Regions from separate parts of the Homo sapiens genome. Here all the other regions are linked to region 1. Evidence: promoter capture Hi-C in 16 types of primary human blood cells and fetal thymus (Javierre and others, 2016). All regions are on one chromosome and are shown on one strand. Each heading gives the region's core, a stretch centred on a gene start or on the middle of the fragment in contact. The rest is flanking DNA. Distances are from core to core; before and after follow the strand shown.

Region 1 (2,700 bases), core at 101-2,600:
TGTAATCCCAGCTACTTGGGAGGCTGAGGCAGGAGAATGGCTTGAACCAGGGAGGCGGAGGTTGTAGTGAGCCAAGATCGTGCCATTGGACTCCAGCCTGGGCAACAAGAGCAAAAAACTCCATCAACAATAAATAAATAAATCCAACACAGTAGTTTTACTTGATTTTGCAGTGTTCTATAATTTTTTTGTGTGTGGTGGAGAGAGAGGAGGCTTGAAATGGGGAAAAGGAGCCTAATTATTTTCAGTAGATTTTGTTTTTGTTTGTTATTTTTATTCTCGGAAAATTTAACTTTGCAGGGGATTGAGGTATTCCAGATAATGCCTTAAGGCAGAGGAAGGCAACATGTTGTAGTGCATTCAGAGTTTGCATGTGAATAATCAAATTAATCATGTTTTATTACATTTAACGTATATGTCACTACTGGGCTTAGTATCTGATGGTTTGAAAATTAAAAAGGTGGTAGGGTAGTGACTGACTTTGTGCTTGATATTTTGTCTATCACATATGACTTATTTTCCATAGATAATTCATTTTGGCAGTAAATTTTGTGTTCTAATTATTTTTATTCTTGCAGGCTGCTGAATCAGGAATAATAAAAGTTAAAACAATTGCTGCACGAAACACTGAAATTTTGGCAGGTAATTTTTTGTATTAAAAATTTAATAATAAACAAAAATTTGACTAATAGTAAAAGTAGAATCTTTATTGTAAAAGCCATCAGTTTTCTGTAACATCTCTTCCTCATGCCCTAACATATGCTATTCATAATGAAACAGAATGGGCAAAAGTCCATAACTTATGAACTGACTGTATTTCCCAGAGACGAATGCTACAAAAATTCTCTGAAATCAGAAAGCTTAACACTACTGACTCCTTAAAGGCAAGGAATTTTTTCTTACTCATCTTCGCATTCTCCTCCACTTCCTGCTAATCACCTGAGACACACCATAAAAAGCATTCAGTAATATTTGTTCCATTGTATTGAATGAAAGATTTGTTCTCAGTCCACCTTCTGTGATCTACTTTCTCTTTAATATAATACGAACAGTTCATAACATAGTCTTCTGTATTTAGTTGTACCGTATGAATTTTGAGTCTTGGGATTAAGGCAGTATGATCATGAAAAAAGAATGAGAGTGAAGTAGAGAAAAGAAAACAAAAATGTTTTCTTACCTTCTCTTGATTGAACCTGATTTTCAAGGAGGAATTTTCAGGAGTTTCTCTTTGGCATCCTTCTTTTCTACCCAGTCCACTCCTTTCTCTTCCTTGGTGCCTTTTGTTCTTGCCTCAATAATGAACATGGAAAAGAGGTAAACTGGCTTTTTTTTTTTTTTTTTTTTAAGAATCTGTTATATGCAAGGCACTTGTGTCATTCTATCTTACATAACAACCTTGTGGGGAAATATTATCTTATTTGATAGTAGAGCTAATTGAGATGTGAAGAGGTTAAGTTACTTGCCCAAGGTCACAGGAAAGGTGATAGAACCAGATTAAAATCCAGGAGTGTTCAGGAGCCCATGTTCTTCCTGCTACAGTGTGCTACCATGGTATCACCAGGTTTCCACGTTAGCCACTTACTCCCAAGTATTACATATGTAACCAGTGCTTGCTTCAGTGATCCTTTAATCTGCATTTCCAGTTCCAGTAGTGCTGTTGATCTCAGCTAATCTATGAGGAAAGTAGTCCTATTAAATTAATTTACAGAGTCCAAATAGTAAATAATCTCTTTAACTTTCATATACTTTACATTTTTTAAAAGGGATACCAGTAAATCTGTAACTGGTGGGATTTCAGAGTGTTATGAAATGAAATTAAGATTTTTGGGGTCAGATTAAGGATCGGGGGCAAGAGTGGATTTCACTTAGGCTATCCAGCTTTGCTGGAAATTTGCCCTTAGCATAAGCGCTCCTCAATTACATCTGTTTCCCACAGCTTTTTCCCTGATTTTGAACAGTCTTATCAAAACACCCAATAGTTTTATAACATTATGCACAGAAGTAAATAATGCTCTGTGTGCATATTGAGAAGTGGTATAGTGAAAGTGGTGGGTAAAGGCAGAGGTGCACATGGTAGGGTTAGGAAGGCTGGCAAGTGGGTTTTTTTTGTTTGTCTGTTTGTTTTTCCTGAGATGGACTTTTGCTCTTGTTATCCCAGCTGGAGTGCAATGGTGTGGTCTCGGCTTACTGCAACCTCTGCCTCCTGGGTTCAAGCGATTCTCCTGCCTCAGCCACCCGAGTAGCTGAGATTTCAGGTGCCCAACACCACATCTGGCTAATTTTTGTATTTTTAGTAGAGACAGGGTTTCATCATGTTGGCTAGGCTGGTCTCGAACTCCTGACCTCGGGGTTCTCCCGCCTCGGCCTCTCCAAGTGTTGGGATTACAGGCGTGAGCCACTGCGCCCGGCCAGCATGTGGGTTTTAATGGGAGATGTACATTAGGCAGATTAGCTACTGTGGGGAAATTGGTGTTTAAAGAAAAATGATGACCTGGATATTTTTATGTTGGAGACTTACCATAGGCCAATCGTATTAGAATATCACTGTAAATATTTAAAATATTTACTGTTGCTAATATCATTGTTGATACCGTGGTAAGTCCTTAATTATTCTCCAATAATACAAATTTTTATTGGTTTTATAGTTTGTGGAAGACTTTTTTTAAAAAAAGACTGATTTCCTCAGAGGATCACTGTTAT
Region 2 (2,700 bases), core at 119-2,618, 38 kb after region 1:
TACCCTTAAGGAATTTATGAAACTTAATTATAAGGGGCTAGTGGCTGGGTGTGGTGGCTCACGCCTATAATCCCAGCACTTTGGAAGGCCAAGGCGGGTGGATCACTTGAGGTCAGGAGTCCGAGACCATCCTGACCAACATGGCGAAACCCCATCTCTACTAAAAATACAAAAATTAACTGGGCATGGTGGCTTGTAATCCCACCTTCTCAGGAGGCTAAGGCACAAGAATCACTTGAACCCAGGAGGTGGAGGTTGCAGTGAGCCAAGACTGAGCCACTGTACTTCAGCCTGGGCAACAGAGTGAAACTGTCTCAAAAGAGAAAAAAAAAAGAGGCTAGCATATCTCTTTTCTGCCCTTGACTTACTGTTTTTAGAAAGGAATCAATGAGGCTAAATTGCCTTGTCCAAACTAATTTTCTACTTCTTCACAGACATTTCTCTAACAAAAGATCTCATCACTACCAAATCTATTAGCTCCAAGGTTGTTAACTCGGACAAGCTCCTGACAAATAGACTCCTACATGAATGTGCTACCAGATTTTCTTCATTGTCTGCCAAGTCAACTCTTACATACAGGATTCTTTAATAGATATCTATGTGATATTGAGATTAGAATGTCTACCTCAGTAACTTTGATTCATCTTAAGCCATCAGATGTCTCTTGACGTTTAGATAATAATCTACTACCAAAGTACTACAGGAGTTCAAAAACATTCATCACCCTTCATGTTGGTATAGTGGAGTTTATGACATATCTGGGTCACAAAAATTGGATTTATACCATAAGTGCTAATCTTAATACCTGTTTCCTTATAAGTGCAGCCACTTGGGGGAAAGTCTTAACAGATTCATAGTAGGTTTTCTCCATTGAGGCCCTTGTTCAGTGTTCAGTGCTCTCAACACTAGTTCTCTGCTCAAACTTTCACACTTGACAAGAAGAAACAAAAGGAGAACAAGGTTCTAGACTTCAGGAGAGAGCCTCTCTTTTTTACCCAAATCATAAGATTTTAGTGGTTCCAGTATAAATTGATAAATAATTGGTTTGTGTTATAGTCATTGTGTCATAGAGAAAAAATGATATGCTTTCAAGGCAAGTTTTATAATGTTATTCCTTCGGCTGTAATATACTTGATGTTTCTGAGATCCTTTGTATTCTTGCCTCAAAGCTTAGCTGATGAACCTTAAATTCATTCACACACACTTATATGCCACTTATGCCACTTGTAAAGCTGATATTGCACTTGTTGAAGGGCTTACTAATATTCAAACCCTCCAGTAGATAGAGCTGTTGTCCAATGAGTCACTAGCATGGGTCTTTCTTTCTCAGTTCTTCCTCTAAAGAGGTGTCATTTTGTTTAGAAAAAATAATGCCCTATTCATTTGCATGGCACTTTGTCATGTTTAGGGGATGTTTTTATTCTTACATTTTTCTCATTTGATTTCCCAGAAAGATGTAGATATTTTCATCCTTTATTTATAAGAAAGGCAACCATGCTTGTCCTTACGCACAAGGTTGCTGGATAAAGAAGTTGAGCCACCTGACTCCTGATCTAGTTCCTTTAAACTAAGCTTTATCATGTTTAGGACAATGACAAGCCTCTGCATATACTTACCCAGTCATTAGCAGTCTAAATGATAATGTTGTTTTTAGTTATTCCTCCTACTGTGTCATTATGATTATGTCCTTTTTTTAAGCATCCAGTTAAAGATACTGAAAGGCATTAGAAAATACTAGCAGCTAAGACTTTGCACTAAAAGCCTGAGGGCTACTATATTTCCCCAAATTTCTTGTCTCACATTATGGTTCACTCATTTTGAGATACCCCAGCTAAAACATCCAATAACTTGCTGTACCTAGTAGCAAGAATCAGTTTGGCCTAATAATCACCATGTCAGCTTAATTTTTACCTCCCAGAGGTCCTGCTGTATTGTCAATTAATAAGTAACAAAAACAATCCATTTACCTTTGGATGAACGGGTTAGCTTTTGTTTGTTCATTCAGTTATCAGACATGTAATGATTAATGCCTTGGGTGTGCCTTGAACATTATTTATTTATAAAGAGCTTGCTGAGAAATGGTCTATATTAGCAACAACAGTAATGATAATTAATACTTAATTAGCAGTACAGGCCCTGTTCTAATAGTTATATACTTTACATCTGTCAACTGCTATAGGTTCCTCCTTATTTTTCTACTATAAAATTTATACTAAGCACCCTTTGGCTTGCCTCTTTGTTTCTTTAGTAGCAAAAGAAAGTATGGAAAAAACTGCTCTGAAGAGTAGAACGTGCATCCTGTCAGCAGTTTATGTGGTACATGCTGTCTGGCAGTTTTTAGAAATGGAGATGGCATGATGGTATTATCTGCTTTCTAAAGAGCAAGGATAAAGGATTAACCGTATTAGCAGATTACTAATGTTTTCAGGTATATATTTAGAGAAACACTGTGATTATTTTTACTGTTAATGTTTCCATGTATAACTACATTTCCTTTCTCTGTTTCTCCACTCCCCATTAAGAGTTTGATTTCTAATCTAAAAGATTTTATTGGTTTGTCCATAGCACTAAGTTAAGAATAAGAACACAGTCTATAATTCTTCTCTTTGATTCAAAGAAATAGTATTAAAAATCATATATTTTTAGGTAACTGAATGTGAGATATTTCTGTCACTTCTGGTGAAATTTCTGGATGCAGAT
Region 3 (2,700 bases), core at 122-2,621, 35 kb before region 1:
TTTTGAGTTACATCGTAAATGCAATAGTTGAGCTGTCAAATCTCATGTGGAAATTTTGAAAAGCATACTGCGAGTCAACAAAACCAAGAGAAATGTGCACTGGGGATGTTGCTGGCCCAGAGAGGCCAAGCCATACCTACAGAGCAACTATATGCTTACAGTCAGTCTTAATTTTCAGGTGATCAAGAAGTGATGTTTTAAGCATTATATATATATATATATATATATATATATATATATATATATATTTTTTTTTTTTTTTTTTTTTTTTTTTTTTTTTTTAGATGGAGTTTTGCTGTTGTTGCCCAGGCTGGAGTGCAATGGCATGATCTCACCTCAATGCAACCTCTGCCTCCAGGGGTTAAAGCAATTCTCTTGCCTCAGCCTCCCAAGTAGCTGGGATAACAGGCACATGCCACCATGCCTGGCTAATTTTGTATTTTTAGTAGAGTTAGGGTTTCTCCATGTTGGTCAGGCTGGTCTTGAACTCCTGACCTCAGGTGATTCGCCTGCCTCGGCCTCCCAAAATGCTGTGATTACAGGTGTGAGCCACTGTGCCGGGCTGCACTTTATATTCTTACAGTACTGTTTGTTCATTTTTATGGATTTTTAAAATGGGTTTCGTATGGTTTAGGAAATTGATTTGGGGTTTGGCTTGATATGAAATGCATCAAAACTTTTCCTGGTTGGTGACTTCATTCATGACATCTGATTTTCAAAAACTGATTACAGAGATTAAGCAGGAAATGCCTATATTAAGGGACTTAAATCCAAAAGTGTAATAAAAAAATTATTTGGCTGGGCGTGGTGGCTCACACCTGTAATCCCAGCACTTTGGGAGGCCGAGGCGGGTGGATCACTCGAGGTCAGGAGTTCAAGACCAGCCTGGCCAACATGGTAAAACCCTGTCTCTACTAAAAATACAAAACTAACTGGGCATGGTAGCACATGCCTGTAATCCCAGCTACTCAGGAGGCTGAGACAGGAGACTCGCTTGAACCCAGAAGGTGGAGGTTGCAGTGAGCCGAGATCGAGCCACTGCACTGCAGCCTGGGCGACAGAGTGAGACTCCTCAAAAAAAAAAAAATCATTATAATCAAGTTTATCCTAAGACTGCAAACATAGTCCATACCAGAAAAGTCTAGCAATATAACTTCTCCCTAATATTCTAAAAGAAAAAATTACATGATAAACTCACTAGATTCTTAAAATAATTACCACGGGCTTGGCCCCATGGCTCATGCCTGTAACCCCAGCACTTGGGGAGGCCAAGGCAAGCGGATTGCCTGAGCTCAGGAGTTCGAGACCAGCCTGGGCAACATGGCGAAACCCCATCACTACAAAAAATACAAAAATTAGCTGGGCACAGTGGTGTACACCTATAGTCCCAGCTACTCAGGAGACTGAGGCAGGAGAATTGCTTGAGCCTGGGAGGAGGAGGTTGCAGTGAGCCAAGATCACGCCATTGCACTCCAGCTGGGGCAACACAGCAAAACCTTGTCTCAAAATAAAATGAAATAAAATAATTCCCACATATACGCATATGCTAATTTTTTTTTAAAAAAAGCACTTTTAACAAAGAAACAGACTAGAAGGAAACTCCCTCATCTTGACAAAGGTGTAATACCAAAAACAGAGCAAACATAATACTTAATGGAAAAAAATTGAGATGCATTCACTTTAAGCTCAGGAAAACACAGGTTGCTCATATACAGCCATACAGTTTTCAGTGGTTTTGAAGGAGCTGGTAAGTTGTATAAGAAAAGAAGAAGAAAGGAGATGTAAGAATTGAAAAAAAAGATAAAGCTCTCATTATTTCTAGATGATGTAATCTATGTAGGAAACTCAGAATCAGTAAGCAAGCTATTTGATGAATACGAGTATCCAGAAAGATTGCCAGATACCAGATGAATTCATACAAATCATCCATATGAGCAATAATCAATGGAAAATATAATAGAACAAGCAAAAGTATCTAAGAATGTAACTTAAAACAGAAATTATGAAAAAATTATCTATGAAATTATCGATGAAAAAATATTTTAAATCTATTCAAAGTCATAACCAGCCTGGGCAATGTAGTGAGACCTCATCTCGACAACAACATCAACAATAATAACAGCAACAACAACAAATTAGGCGGTTGTCATGGCATGTCTGTGGTCCTAGCTACTTTGGAGGCTGAGATAGGAGAATGGCTTGAGCCCAGGAAGCTGAAGCTATAGTGTGTGGTGATTGCACCACTGCACTCCAGCCTGGGCAAAAGAGCAAGACCCTGTCTCCAAAAGAAAAAGTCAACAGAGCAAGACCCTGTCTCCAAAAAAAAGTCATAGGGAAGTATTTGAATAAATGGAAAGATATTTTATTCTCTTAAATGGGATAATATCTATATGTCTATATATCTAGATAGATAGATATTCTCCCCAAGTTAATCCATAAGTTTCATGCAATCCCAATCAAAATTTCAGCTGTAGCTTTTTTAAATAGAAATTCAACAGTCAAAAGTTATACAGAAGAACAGAGATCCTTATTTATCTTTTTCAGCTGTAAAAGAAGAACCACATGGGGAGGAGTTGCCTTAGCAGATATTAAGACACACAACAAGGTCATGAAGTAGAATGGGAGTAGGAAGGCCTGGGAGGTCTTGCAGGGGTAGAGGCATCTGATGCATATTATCTCAATACATTTCTTCACAACCCC
Region 4 (2,700 bases), core at 173-2,672, 51 kb before region 1:
GCAAAGGGCTTGAAAAGACATTTCTCCAAAAAAGACATTCTACCCAATGTCACATGCTTTGAGTTCCCAGCCCCAAGTGAATGCCAGTCACGGTTTCCTTTACTCTTTCGGGATGATTTTTTCTTCCAGACTCAACTTCTTTTCTCACACTTATGCCCTGACCAGTACCCTGAAGGGTGTATCCTCAGCAGATCTGCTCTTTGTGAAGAAAATCTCCACTCCAAGCACTCTGCCCTGCAAGCTTGAGGTACCTTGGTTTCCTTGGACTATCAACTACATCTCTCAACCCAGGATGTTCACTACACTCCATCCCATTTCTCTTTCTCTGCACTATAGCCTGCAAACTCTCAAGGCAGTAAGCTGAGGAAATCATAGAGCCCTACTACTTACTTCCCATCTCTCAGTGATGACTGTCTTTTGTTGACTGATGCCCAATATTATGAGAAATGCTATTTCATATATTTTATCTGGTTTATTTTTGGTTGTTTTTGGCAAGAGTGTAAATCCAGTCCCTGTTACTCCATCTTGGATTGAAATAGAAATCTAGACTTCTTTATGTAAGAGAAAAAAAAAATCCTGATTTAATTCAGTGTTATTTGAGTATTCTGTAATATACAGACAAACCTAATCCTAACTCCTAACACTGAGTACTTGGATGAGGGGATTAAAGAAAGAAGTCTTCAGGCACCTCATGAGGCCAACTCTGTGGATTTGTGTCCAAATCTCCATCAATGAAAGTAATTTCTATGTCTCTTTTCCACAAGACTCCGGGGCATGTGAAGAGGACATTTTGAGACTGAGGGTATATACTGGGTGATCAGTTCAATTAGTGATGCCATTAACTGAGGAAGAAATACCTCCTAGAGCTGATTCAGGCATCCTAATAGTATATATATTCAAAAAGGTACAAAATTATACACAGAGCATCACTAAATACGTGGGTCTGAAGGTATTTTATATATGAATAAATAACATCACTATATTCAACCAATATTTCCTCTTGTTAAAGATGACATGCCCATAGATTTATTTACATTTTATTTTCTTTTTTAAAAGGAAAGGCTGGGCATGGTGGCTCACACCTGTAATCCCAGCACCTTTGGAAGTGGAGGCAGGTGGATCATCTGAGGTCAGGAGTTCAACACCAGCCTGGCCAACATGGTGAAACCCCGTCTCTACCAAAAAAAATACAAAAATTAGCCAGGCGTGGTGGTGCGCCCCTGTAATCCCAGCTACTCAGGGGGCTAAGGTATGAGAATTGCTTGAACCCGGGAGGTGGAGGTTGCAGTGAGCCAAGATCACGCCACTGCATTCCAGCCTGGGCGGCAGAGTGAGACCCTGTCTAAACAAAACAAAACAAAACAAAACAAAGAAAACTTCTCAAAGCACTTGTAAATAGTATTTGAAGGCATCACACTAGTGCAGAAGCATCTTCTGTTTGGTCAGTTAGTGGTTATTATAATCCTTCATCTCAAGATATGTAACTCTCAAGTTTAAACATAAAGAATATTTGTGCTTTCTATGCCATGTCTCTCTCTCTCTCTCTCTCTCTCTCTCTTTCTCTCTCTCTCCCTTTTTATTTATTTATTTATTTTTTTGACACGGAATCTTGCCCTGTCACCCATGCTGGATTGCAGTGTCACGATCTTGGCTCACTGCAACCTCCGCCTCCTGGGTTCAAGGGATTATCCTGCCTCAGCCTTCCAAGTAGCTGGGATTACAGGTGTGCGCCACCATGCCCAGCTGATTTTTGTGTTTTTTAGTAGACACGGGGTTTCACCATGTTGGCCAGGCTGGTCTCGAACTCCTGACCTCAAGTGATCCGCCCACCTCAGCCTCCCAAAGTGCTCGAATTACAAGCGTAAGCCACCGCTCCCGGCCGCCTGTCTCTTTTTAACAACTTAATTTTCTCCCAGTAATTTGAGGTGTGGGGAACTTTTATATTAAGGCAAAACTAAAGAAAGGAATAGATCTGTGTTTTCAAATTGAGGCGAACGTCACAGTAGAGTCACAGGATGAACACAGTACATCTTCTTGGAGTATCAGTTTTGCTCAGTGGTAACTATTTTAAAACCGTTTTATAGCAAAACAAACAGATCTCATAGAAAATACAATTCAAGACTTAATGAATTATTTTTAAGCTATAATAGAAAACTACTTCCCCAAGACCGTTTTGGGTCCTACAACCCACCCCACGCATGCTTTACCCTCCTCTGCCATTAGTTTCCCTTTAGTGCTCAAGTGTGAGTAGCACTGGATTGATGACGACGTTAGTTCTCCATTCTAGTGAGGTCGTCTCTGATATAATTAATATTTTTATCTAAGGCCGTTTTCCCTCTCTTTTTTTTTCGGGGTTTTACTATTACCCAAAGAGTGTCCACAGCGCCTGCCCAGAATCCCAGAACAAGGAGGTGAGCTGCAGAGTGACAATACAGGAAGGGCAGCTTCGCAGCTGTGTCTGAGTGGGGAAGCAGGTTCGCCGTGTCCTGGAGAACTTGCTCAGCTCCACAGCCTCCTCCATCCTCCCCTGATGTCTCAGGACTGGACTGAGACCAGACGCCCCTCTGGGCAAGTTTACCCAAGAAAATGGGCTTACACATGGTGAAGCTTGGAACCTAGCAGTTCCTACTCTGCTGTTTTCCAGGAATTAGCATTCCCTTATTAAAACTGTCCTCTGGATCGTCCAGTTCAAGATGTCTG
Region 5 (2,700 bases), core at 91-2,590, 54 kb after region 1:
AAAACCTACTACTGATTTTAATTTTGGTTGCTAGAAGTTACTACTGATTTTAATTTTAGTTATTGGACCTTTTATACTTTTGTAAAGTTATTTGTTTTGATTTTTTTTTAATTTTACAGCATCTTGTGTGGATTCTGGGATTAAAGCCTAGTAGTGGCGGTGCCTTGAAACCTGGGAGAGCTGTAGAAGGACCCAGTACAGTAAGCTCTAGTCTTTCTTACCCAATTAGTGCATCCCAAAGTGTCATATATTACATTTAATTTTATTCTTCTCAGGTTCTAACAACAGCAGTGATGACAGATTTACCAGTGATTTCCAATATACTTTCAAGATTGTTTGAAAGCTCACAGTAAGAGTCAGTTTTTTTAATTGATAAAAACATTGTTATTTGTTATATATTTTAGATCAAGATGTCTTATTTCTTCATTTCCTTTTTAGGTATCTTGATGATGTATCACTGCATCATTTAATAAATGCACTTTGCTCCTTGTCTCTAGAAGCAATGGATATGGCCTATGGAAATAATAAGGTGTGATATTCTACCTTTCTGTTTTAGATATGATACATTAGTTATATAAGATGTACATCCATTATGATCTTAGTGTTTTACTAGTAGAACTAACACTCAGATTGTATGGTAACCATACTCTGTTGGGTTTTTACCACTTATCGTTATTTGTCGAAGGAGTAAAAAGGACATGATTTGGCTTGTGATATGTCTAAATATGTCATATGATTTTAAGTTGTGTTCATTTCTCTTATATACTGAACATTTTAAAAATATTTTTATAAAATAATATAATACAGTTTTATAGGTTATATAAAATGTCATGATAATACTTGTAATTACAATTTATGATTGGGGTAATATAAGATTTAAATTAAAGAATGTTTGTCTCAGTTTCCTTTGCTTTCATTGGGATGGAAAGTAAGGAGCTAATCATTTCTTTCTAAAGGTAATGATTCTCCTTATCTTGAAAATTTAAATTTTTATTTGTTCATTGATTAAATGAATAAAACGGTACTTTTGAATATTAACATTCAAGAACATTTCTTTCTATACTACTAAAAATATCACTTTCTGTTATACTTGGAAAGCACAGGAACAGTTGTATTTATTTATATGTTAGAAATAATTAAACAAAATACTTTCCACATTTTAAAATCAATAAATATAGTTTGACTATTTACAAATAAGTGAAAATAACCCAAAATATGATTTAAAAGCTAAAATTTATATAATTTAAAGCTATAACATGTAACTGTAGCATTCAAAATTATGTTGTCTGCCTAGTCTTTTTTTTTTTTTGAAACGGAGTCTCGCCTTGTCGCCCAGGCTAGAGTGCAGTGGCGCAATCTCGGGTCACTGCTCTGCCTCCCAGGTTCATGCCATTCTCCTGCCTCAGCCTCCCAAGTAGCTGGGACTACAGGTGCCCGCCACCACGCCCGGCTAATTTTTTTATTGTATTTTCAGTAGAGACAAGGTTTCACTGTGTTAGCCAGGATGGTGTCGATCTCCTGACCTTGTGATCCGCCCGCCTCAGCCTCCCAAAGTGCTGGGATTACAGGCATGAGCCACCGCGCCCGGCCATCTGCCTAGTCCTTAAGTGTAATTTTGGGTACTGTGGCTTGTTATCTTGGCTCTTATGACTCATTTAAAGATTGGTGAAGAAAGTCTCATTAGAGCATAGTTTCATATATTATAGTACCTAGCTAGATAATTATATAAACATGCAGGTGTTTGAAAGTATGTATTATGGCTGGGCATGGTGGCTTACGCCTGTAATCCCAGCACTGCAGGAGGCCGAGGCAGGCAGATCACTTGTGGTCAGGAGTTCGAGACCAGCCTGGCCAACATGGTGAAACCCCGTCTCTACTAAAAATACAAAAATTAGCTGGACATGCTCAGTTGAACCCAGGAGGCGGAGGTTGCTGTGAGTCGAGATTGTGCCACTGCGCTCCAGCCTGGGCGACAGAGCAAGACTCTGTCTCAAGAAAAAAAGAAAATATATATTATAGTTTGTTCTAAATCAGGGCAAGGATAATATATAATGAAGTAATTAATTTTTTGATACCTTTAATAATTCTACATATTTGAGATTCTTAACACAAAACTATAATATTTTTAATAAAGTACCTTAATGAAATCTAAGCAAGTTTATATGGTAATGTTTTCAGAATCTATGTATTTATTCAATAAGCACAGTAGGCTTACTGTGTACATGACGATCTGCTCAGAGACATTAAGAAATAAGAGGTTTCTACTTTCAAAGAGTATATAAGCTACTTGGTTCATAGTTAGTGACAATTACTATGGTATGAGAGTCTCAATAAATAATACAGATATTAAATGACATGAGACTTACTCTCTGAATTTTTAGTTCCTTGTTATATAAGATGTTATTGGTATATGTTTCTATTAAGATGAATTAAGATTAATCAAGATGAACTAGTGTGATTGGAGATGTATATTGAAAGATTGGTAGGATTTAGGTAGGAAAGGGCAGGTTAATGTAAATCAAAAGAAAAATATTGTAGGAAATCATGACCTATAAGAAAAAAATAGGAGATTTGATGATTAATCATTTATTTTTAACTTTCAGTAGTGCAATTTCAGAGAGTGGTAGCAACAGATACGATTTTTAAGGAAGGCTTGGGAAGAACAGTTGTGGAGAAAATGGATACGCTGAGTAAAATAGA

Evidence for each region. Contacts are between HindIII fragments. The CHiCAGO score rates a contact against its expected background, and 5 or more counts as called.
Region 2: a contact is called between a fragment that was not itself captured here and the fragment with the promoter of MON2-AS1 in region 1, in 8 of 17 cell types (total B cells, naive B cells, naive CD8 T cells and 5 more). The highest score is 8.0, in total B cells.
Region 3: a contact is called between a fragment that was not itself captured here and the fragment with the promoter of MON2-AS1 in region 1, in 1 of 17 cell types (total B cells). The highest score is 5.2, in total B cells.
Region 4: a fragment that was not itself captured here is called in contact with the fragment with the promoter of MON2-AS1 in region 1 in 2 of 17 cell types (naive B cells and total B cells); the score reaches 6.3 in naive B cells.
Region 5: a contact is called between a fragment that was not itself captured here and the fragment with the promoter of MON2-AS1 in region 1, in 3 of 17 cell types (total B cells, naive CD4 T cells and naive B cells). The highest score is 6.3, in total B cells.

What each region holds. Positions count from the first base shown.
Region 1 is chr12:62,483,592-62,486,291 of GRCh38, forward strand. It overlaps MON2-AS1 (MON2 antisense RNA 1), which reads right to left and starts at 1,351. Exons shown (of 2, transcript NR_186172.1): 1 at 1,178-1,351. It overlaps MON2 (MON2 regulator of endosome-to-Golgi trafficking), which reads left to right. Exons shown (of 35, transcript NM_015026.3): 2 at 579-642. The HindIII fragment of the contact is 7,471 bases long and covers 859-2,700 here.
Region 2 is chr12:62,521,869-62,524,568 of GRCh38, forward strand. It overlaps MON2 (MON2 regulator of endosome-to-Golgi trafficking), which reads left to right. Exons shown (of 35, transcript NM_015026.3): 9 at 2,647-2,700. Among named protein-coding and RNA genes, the nearest start is that of MON2-AS1, 38 kb to the left of the region's middle. The HindIII fragment of the contact is 403 bases long and covers 1,168-1,570 here.
Region 3 is chr12:62,448,656-62,451,355 of GRCh38, forward strand. No RefSeq gene overlaps it. Among named protein-coding and RNA genes, the nearest start is that of MON2, 17 kb to the right of the region's middle. The HindIII fragment of the contact is 5,138 bases long and covers 1-2,700 here.
Region 4 is chr12:62,432,469-62,435,168 of GRCh38, forward strand. No RefSeq gene overlaps it. Among named protein-coding and RNA genes, the nearest start is that of MON2, 33 kb to the right of the region's middle. RefSeq lists an enhancer at 2,641-2,700. The HindIII fragment of the contact is 2,366 bases long and covers 240-2,605 here.
Region 5 is chr12:62,537,977-62,540,676 of GRCh38, forward strand. It overlaps MON2 (MON2 regulator of endosome-to-Golgi trafficking), which reads left to right. Exons shown (of 35, transcript NM_015026.3): 17 at 120-200; 18 at 276-349; 19 at 439-529. Among named protein-coding and RNA genes, the nearest start is that of MON2-AS1, 54 kb to the left of the region's middle. The HindIII fragment of the contact is 3,550 bases long and covers 1-2,700 here.